Linked DNA regions of Homo sapiens: region 1 is linked to region 2. Evidence: promoter capture Hi-C in 16 types of primary human blood cells and fetal thymus (Javierre and others, 2016). All regions are on one chromosome and are shown on one strand. The core of a region is centred on a gene start or on the middle of the fragment in contact, and the rest is flanking DNA. Distances in the headings are between cores, read along the strand shown.

What was found. The method cuts DNA at HindIII sites, captures the fragments that hold promoters and counts their contacts. A CHiCAGO score of 5 or more calls a contact.
Region 1: a fragment that was not itself captured here is called in contact with the fragment with the promoter of TBL1X in region 2 in 12 of 17 cell types (non-activated CD4 T cells, M0 macrophages, activated CD4 T cells and 9 more); the score reaches 11.6 in non-activated CD4 T cells.

What each region holds. Positions count from the first base shown.
Region 1 is chrX:8,951,106-8,954,980 of GRCh38, reverse strand. No RefSeq gene overlaps it. Among named protein-coding and RNA genes, the nearest start is that of LINC03114, 26 kb to the right of the region's middle. The HindIII fragment of the contact is 3,453 bases long and covers 790-3,875 here.
Region 2 is chrX:9,463,017-9,466,672 of GRCh38, reverse strand. It overlaps TBL1X (transducin beta like 1 X-linked), which reads right to left and starts at 1,615. Exons shown (of 18, transcript NM_005647.4): 1 at 1,226-1,615. RefSeq lists silencers at 640-789, 1,090-1,229, 1,350-1,929 and enhancers at 2,160-2,359, 2,187-3,015, 3,390-3,656. The HindIII fragment of the contact is 11,363 bases long and covers 1-3,656 here.

The DNA of each region.
Region 1 (3,875 bases), core at 1,267-3,766, 510 kb after region 2:
CATTGGCGTCTGTCACTGAGTCTTGTTAAAGCAAAATAAATCCAACTGAGCCTCCATGTATCTCCTACCAGGTCCTGTTTGTGGAAATAAACAGGAGCAGGAGAGCATCCCCTAGCTGAAATGCAGCCTGGCTGTGGGACACCCTGCTGCAGAGGCCGGTGCAACAGTTTGAGCCTGGCATGACCATGGTGCTGCCATCCGCTGTCCCCACGTGCAGGCAGAAAGGATTTGCCTGCATTCATGTGGGATGTGTTCCCATGGAAACTCATAGTCACTGACATCTCAGATCATGGTACCCACAAGGGGGGTCCTGTCTGTGGCCTGTTCATTAAGGTAAGAAGCAGGCATTTTACCTTTCCCTGGTCAAAAGCAACACTGGGTGTATTTTTCCTCTCTCCTTCCTTGTCTTTAGGAAAGGGCTTGAAAGATCCACATTGTCTGGGCGAGATGACTCACACCTGTATTCCCAGCACTTTGAGAGGCAGAAGGATTGCTTGAGGCCAGGAATTTGAGACCAGCCCTGGCCACATAGTGAGACTCTGTCTCTACAAAAAATTAGCTGGGCATGTTGGTGCATATCTGTAGTCCCAGCTACTCAGGAGGCTGAGGCAGGAGGATCGCTTGAGCCCAGGAGTTCAAGAGCCTGGGAAACATAATGACACTCCGTCTCCAAAAATAAAAAATTTAAAAATTAGCCAAATGTGGTGGGGCAAGCCTGTGATCCCAGCTACTCAGGAGGCTGAGTTGAGAGGATCACTTGAGCCCAGGAGTTCGAGGCTGCAGTAAGCTTTGATCATGCCACTGCACTCTAGCCTGGGAGACAGAGAGAAACCCTGTCTCTAAAAAAAAAAAAATCAATCAATAAAATAAAACAGAAAAGTCCATATTGGGCGCTTTTCTATCTGGGATTGCCCTACAACACCCAGTGAAATTTCATCGAGATGCCAAAGATAATGCTGGGGAGTTAAAGGAAATTGTAAAATGGAGTGCAAGACTACCTTCTCTGCGACATTGCAAACTCATCTCCACTGAGTGCTTTTGAACTCTGGGTGATGTTCTTAATTTGATTTCAGATAATTTTGGATACGGTGACAAATGGGTCACTGTATCTAAAATTGAGTCTCCTTATGTGCTTTTATAGCAAAAACAAACAAAGAAACAAATAAATCAAAAGTTAAGAGTAGAAATTATTAGCCTGGCTTTAAAATTAGCAAATTGATTCAATTTTTGTGCCTTGTGATCAAGAAGCCTGGCTTGTTTGTGAATGTGTATCATAGCTTCACAGGTAAGAGGTATACTGTTTTCTTCAAAACTATTAAGAAAAAAAAATGCTCAGCTTAGTTCTATATATTGATTTAGTATCTTAAGATTTTTGAATGTCTTTTATAATCATTATCTTAATCATTCCCAATTCTGTGTTTTAAAGAGAAGGTATTTTCATGTATTGTTATGGGCTGAATTGTGCTCCTCTAAATTCAGATGTTGGAGTCCTAACCCCCAGGACCTCAGTATGTGACTGTATTTGGAGATAGAGCTTTTAAAGAAATGATTAAGGTAAAATAAAGTCATTTGGGCGAGCCCTGATCCAACAGGACTGGTGTCCTTATAAGAAGAGGAGATTAGGACAAAGACAAACACAGAAGGATGACCATTTGAGAACACAGCGAAAGAGGGCATCTCCAAGCCAAGGAGAGAGGTCTCAGGAGGAACCAGCCCTGCCCACACCTGGATCTCGGACTTCCAGCATCCAGGATGGCAAGAGAACAATTTCTGTTAAGTCCCCCAAAGGCAACCCTAGCAAACGAATGCACTGATCTGACATGGTATTTAAAATGTTTCAAAACTTACGAAAGGAATGGAATTTGAAGGGAGTAGTGTAGATGAGAAAGCTCCAAGTAAACCTGTAGTTTTAAGATGGTAAATATAGATCTGATTGACTTAAAGAGAACTCTGTCAATGTAATGGCAGGTTAGACAGAGCAAAGCTATTGATGAATATAAAGGAATAAATTTGCTTATTAATATGTCCTTAATTCCTCATCTCTGCTAATGGCAGAGTTTTCCAAATTGGGTACTATTGATATTTGGGTCAGATAATTCTTTTTTACGGTGGGGGCCACCCTGCTGTGTGGGCTGTTCAGCAGCAGCCCTGGCCTCTACTCACTCTATGCCAGGAGAACCCCCATTTCCCAGCTGTAACAACCCTAAAATACCTCTAGCCATTGCAAAATATTCCTGGGGCTAAAAAATTACCCCTCTTCCCCAGTGGAGAACCACTGGTTTATGGGTACTGTGGGCGACCAGAAAAATGGAATACACGCTGTCGCTTGCAGGTTTTTCTAAATCTGGCCTGCAGATTCCCCGTGGTAGACAGAATAATGCCCAATCCTTTGCCCTGGAAAGACGCTTACGGCCCAGAACCTGTGAATATGTTGCTTTAGACCACAAAAGGGATTTTTGCAGATGTAAGTAAGATTAGAGACCCTGGGATGAGAGTATTTTGAATCATCTAGAGGGCCTGATGTTATCTTAAAGTATTCTTAACATCAGAGAACCTGCCCAACTGAGGTTAGAGAGAAAGAAACAGATATGAGGAAGAAAGCAGGGTCCGAGAGATAAGGCTGCCTGCTTTGAAGACAGATGAAGGGGCCGTCAGACAAGGAATGCAGGTGGCTTGAAAGCAGATTCTCCACTCTAGAAGGAAAACAGCCCTATTGACACCTTGATCTTAGTGCAGCAAGGCTCTTATCAGACTTCTGGCCTGCCAAACTGTGAGATAATAAATTCATGATGTTGGAGGCCATTGGGTTTGTGGTAATTTGTTATAGCAGCAATAGTAGACCAATTATACCACCTCCATCAGAATGCCCTGGAGTGGGCTACAAACACAGATTCTTAGGCTGTGCTCCAACCTAAAGGATCAGAATCTTCTGGAGGTGGAGCCTAAGAATCTGCATTTTAAACCAGCACACAGAACGGGATTGGTGGCCATCTAAAATCTGAGAACCATTGTGTTGTGTGTCTAAGGACAGTTTTCCTGTGTGACTGTTACAAAGTAATCCTCCACCTCTGAAGGCAAAAGATTTCTGAAAAAAAATCTTTCTAAAACTCTAAGCATTTTTCCCCCTGAAATTAGGGGGAAAAAAGGAAGAAAAAGTTTTTGTCCAGCATTATAACCGCATTCAGTTTGTATGCAGTGGATTTGACTATTTTAATGAAAGGAGCTGACATTTCTTTATTCTCTTTGGAAGCATCTGATTCCAAGTTGGGACCAGGGCAGCTGTGTCCCATGGGAGTTCCAGACTCAATATCCCAGGTGTTAGCAAAGCCCTACTATCTAAGGCATAACCCAGTGCCCCCGACAGGTCTCTCCCGGCTCCAAACAAATTCGCATGGGTGTGCCAGCCTCCCCAGCACTCCTGCCATCGTACAGATCTGATGCCAAGATGAGCTTAGGAGATGATGTTTATGAGAGCAATGCCGAGTTTCATGGAGTTGACATGTCAATCTTGAGAAAGAACTAGACAGGCTGTGTACTCCCAGCACCGCTCACCTCACCATTGGTGTGGGTCCCAGACAGGGAGGCATGGTTGACGTCGTGCTCTGGCCCCGGATTTCAATAGGAATCAGGGCTTCTAAGATTCTGCACCTGTCTAGCCAGATGATAAATAATTCCCTTCTTATTTGTGAGGCAGGAAGTACACAGTTATCCAGGATGCTTTGTTAGGCTTCATGGGGAAAAAGAAAGAGAGCTGCTCCGGGTGAGGATCTGACGGAGGTTATTTTAGTGCAGGTGTGGGCTAAAAGAATGGAGAAATGCTACAGGTTTTGTCTGTCTCCCATCTCATCTTCCTGTGTGGGTGTGGCAGGGCTTTC
Region 2 (3,656 bases), core at 366-2,865:
TTAGCAGGGAGGTTGCCTTCCTTCCCCCTCGCCTTCCAGGTTAAACCAGGGACTGGGCGATGTTTCAGGAGAGGAAAACATCCAAAAGGCAGGTCAAACCACACATGACAATGCAAAGCAGAAACAGTTGCAAATACAATAGAGGGTAGGTTTTTGTTTCTTTTTAGGTTTTGCTCCAGAACATCACTGACTCGAGAATAAACGTCAGTCCCTACCTTTGTGGAACGTCCAACGCAGCTGGCTGGGGGAACACGAGGCCTTGCAGGGAGCGAGCCCCGGCCCCGGTCTGACGGAACACAGGCGACGCACGTGAAGTCCAGGCCCTATCCCAGCGCAGGCGGGCCTCCAGCGACCCACAGTTGTCACATATCCGGCCAGCGCCGACTCCCGAAGGCGCACTCCCCATACTCCACTCCGAGCACCGGTCCCATCGTTAGGGAAGGTCCCCCTGGATAGCAAGGCCGGGGCCCAGGATCTGCGAGACCCACCCCACCCGCCCCGTCAGAGCCCAGGAGCAGCAACAGGTCTGCGCTCTCCCCGGGCGGCGCTCTGCAGACCCTCGACGGGCCAAGGGTGCCCCCAGCCCAGCCGTGCGCTCAGGCCGGGGAGATGGGCGGAGGACTGGGGCTCCCGACTTCCTTGACAGTTTCTGCGCGTCAGAAACTGAGCAGACACGGGGCCCGCGCCACCTCGCCCGCCGCTTGCCCCACTCCGCGAGGCTGCGCTTCCACCCGGGTCCGGGAGGGCCGGCCCGCGTCCCGGGTATGAATGGGGCTCTTCTCCCCAACAGCGGGGAAATCCCGCCACCGCCCTCCACCCCGGTCCCCGGAGCCCGCGGTGGCGCAGGTTTGCCCAGCAAGCCCCTGAATCGGCAGACAAAGGGGCACCGGAGGAAAAGCCGAGCGCTTCCCTAAACTTACCGGCCACTTCCCCCTCCCCAAAACAAAGGAGCCCCCCGCCGACCTCCGTCTCTCCCCGCAAGGCGCGCCGGCACTTCGGGGAGCGGCCACCTCGGGGTATTGTTCAGGCTCCTGGGAGCGCGCCGCACCCCAGTCCGAGCGCCGCGGGGACAGTTGGCGACCTGCACCTACAGGAGTTCCAGGGGCGGGTGGAGCGTTCGGGCGCCCCGAGCCGCCGGCCGGACCCTGGAGGGTCAGCGCGGGACCCGCCTCCCCGCAGAAGTTTGCGGACCCCGCGCCCGGCCCGCCGAGCCCTGCGCACTCACCTCGTCGCGAGCAGCGCAACTTGTGGCGGCGCCGCGCGCCCGGCCGCGCTCCGAACCTCCCTCCAGCCGGCAGCCTCCGAGTCCCGGCCGTGCGGCGGCCGAAGAGGGCCCGGCGCCCCGGAGCAGCCGCGCGCCGCCCCCGGGCCGCCCCCGCCCCGCCGCCGCCGAGTCCCGGAGAGAGCGCGGGCGCTGGAAAGTTTCGGTGGCGAATGGCGGCCTGAGGGCGCTGCGGCGGCGGCGGGGCGGGGGCGCTGGCGGCTCCTCGCTCCCAAGCGCGGAGTGGGGGCGCTGAGGCGGGCGCGGCGGCGGCGGCGGCGGCAGCGGGAGAGGGCGGGACAGCGGGAGGGACTGGCACGGACAGTGACCTCCACGGGGAGCTGCCGCGAGCGCGCGGACCCCAGCCAGGAGGACCGCCAGGGGTCCGCCCCCGCCGCCGGCCCCTCCCTCACGGCCGTGGGAGGGGACCCGGCGTACCACCCGGCCCCGCCCCTGCGCCCCGGGGGAGCCGCGTCCCGAACCAGCCCCTCCCCTACGAGGGTAGGGACTCCGGCCCTGCCCCTCCCCCGCGGCTCCTAGTGGGGACCCGCGTCCCAACCCAGCCCCTGTCCCACGGTCGGGGGACCAGCGTCCCTACCAAGCCCGCCCCGCTCCCCCACGCCTAGGGTGGGTGAGGGGAACCCGGGCCTCTCCCTAGTTGCTCTGGTCCCGGTCCCTTCCCCGTGGCCTCCGTGGGACTGAGAGGACCCCAGGGCTACCCCCATCACATCCCAAACCCAGCCTTTCCACGACTGCCTCGAGGGGACGGGAACCTCGGCCACCCCCTCAGTTTCTAGGGGGCAGGGGAACCTCGATCACTGCTAAAGTGTTACCCTCCCCCACCCCAAAAAGGAAGCCACCCGGCTGCCCCAACAGAACCCCCTGCCACCTGCCCGATGGTGAATCTCCCTCAAAATCGGCGTCTTAGAAGACACCCCAGTAGTCTTTACCCCAGCTCAAAAAGTGGGGGTTCCGGCGGAGCCTCGACCTTTGCAAAACACCTCCCAAGAAGAGCCAGAAATGCTTAGGGACAAACTCAGACACACAGGCATAGGCGCCAGGAACTCGGGTGTGGGGGCTGAGGAGGTTGGGGGGACCTGGGCACTCGGGCCTCATCACTCCCACCCCAACCCCCCAGGCATCAGCCCTCTGGCCCTTGCAAAGTGCTTTATGTTGCAATGGCTTACACGGCCTGGCCCCGGTGTACCTAAGTCCCCAGCGCTCCTTCCTCCCCTCCACGTAGGCTACTCCCAACCACTCGCAGCCTTAATTCAGTTAAACAGATCTCCACTCCCCCTCCCCAGCACCTCTGGGGTCAGCCTCGTTGAATATTTTTCAAATATTCTTGCCCCTTCCTTTACTATATAATGAGCTTCGTGCTAAGAGCCCGGTACACTCAGCAATCTAAACTATAACCTCACTTGCTCTTCCTCGAACTCTAGACCATTTGTTGTTCTGGTTGTAGGGGGAGGGGGACCTAAGGTGAGGTTTTTGTTTTTTTGTTTTTGTTTTTGTTTTTCTGAGGAGTCTCGCTCTGTCGCCCAAGCTGGAGTGCAGTGGCGCGCTGTCGGCTCATTGCAACCTCCACCACCCTGGTTCAAGCAATTCCCCTGCCTCAGCCTCCCGAGTAGCTGGGATTACAGGCGCATGCCACCACGCCCAGCTAATTTTTTTTGTATTTTTAGTAGAGACGGGGTTTCACCATATTGGCCAGACTGGTCTGAACTCCTGACCTCAGGCAATCCGCCGGCCTCGGCCTCCCAAAGTGCTGGGATTACAGGCGTGAGCCACCGTGCCCGGCCGGAGGTGAGTTTTTAAGAGGCCGGTCCTCCACCAAAACGGCGGACCTCAAAATTACCCTGCAAAATATTGCTGTAAAACGTCAATGATGCAAAACGACTGTTGCTACACCATCATTAGAGGACATCAATAAAAAAATACACACTTACACAGTCTCCATAATTGTGAATCAGCAGAATAGATTGTGTCTTATTATGTATCAGTTGCCATTCAAGGCCCCCCAGAAGGACATGGTGGGGCCTTCCCTTGAGCCTGCCCTTCGTTGCTCCTGGGCTCCCTGGGCTTGTGCAGACTGATGCTGAGGTATTACATGCAATAGAAAAACGAAGGGTGCAATAGAAAACCCGAACGAGCTCATGATGCAACCCTGCCCTGGCTACACGTGCTTCCCTTCCCCCACCGCCTGCTGGTGGGAGTGCTGCGTTTTTTCCGCCTGTAGGGTCACATTGTGGTTGATTGATTCTCCTTTCGCCTTGCTCAGTCATTCAGATTTGGAAAGTAAATAACAAGTTGACATCATTACAGCTCTGGGCTTTACGCGGACGCAGCCCTCGGCTACCGCACACTCTGGAGTAGCTGCGCAGCCAACCAGCCT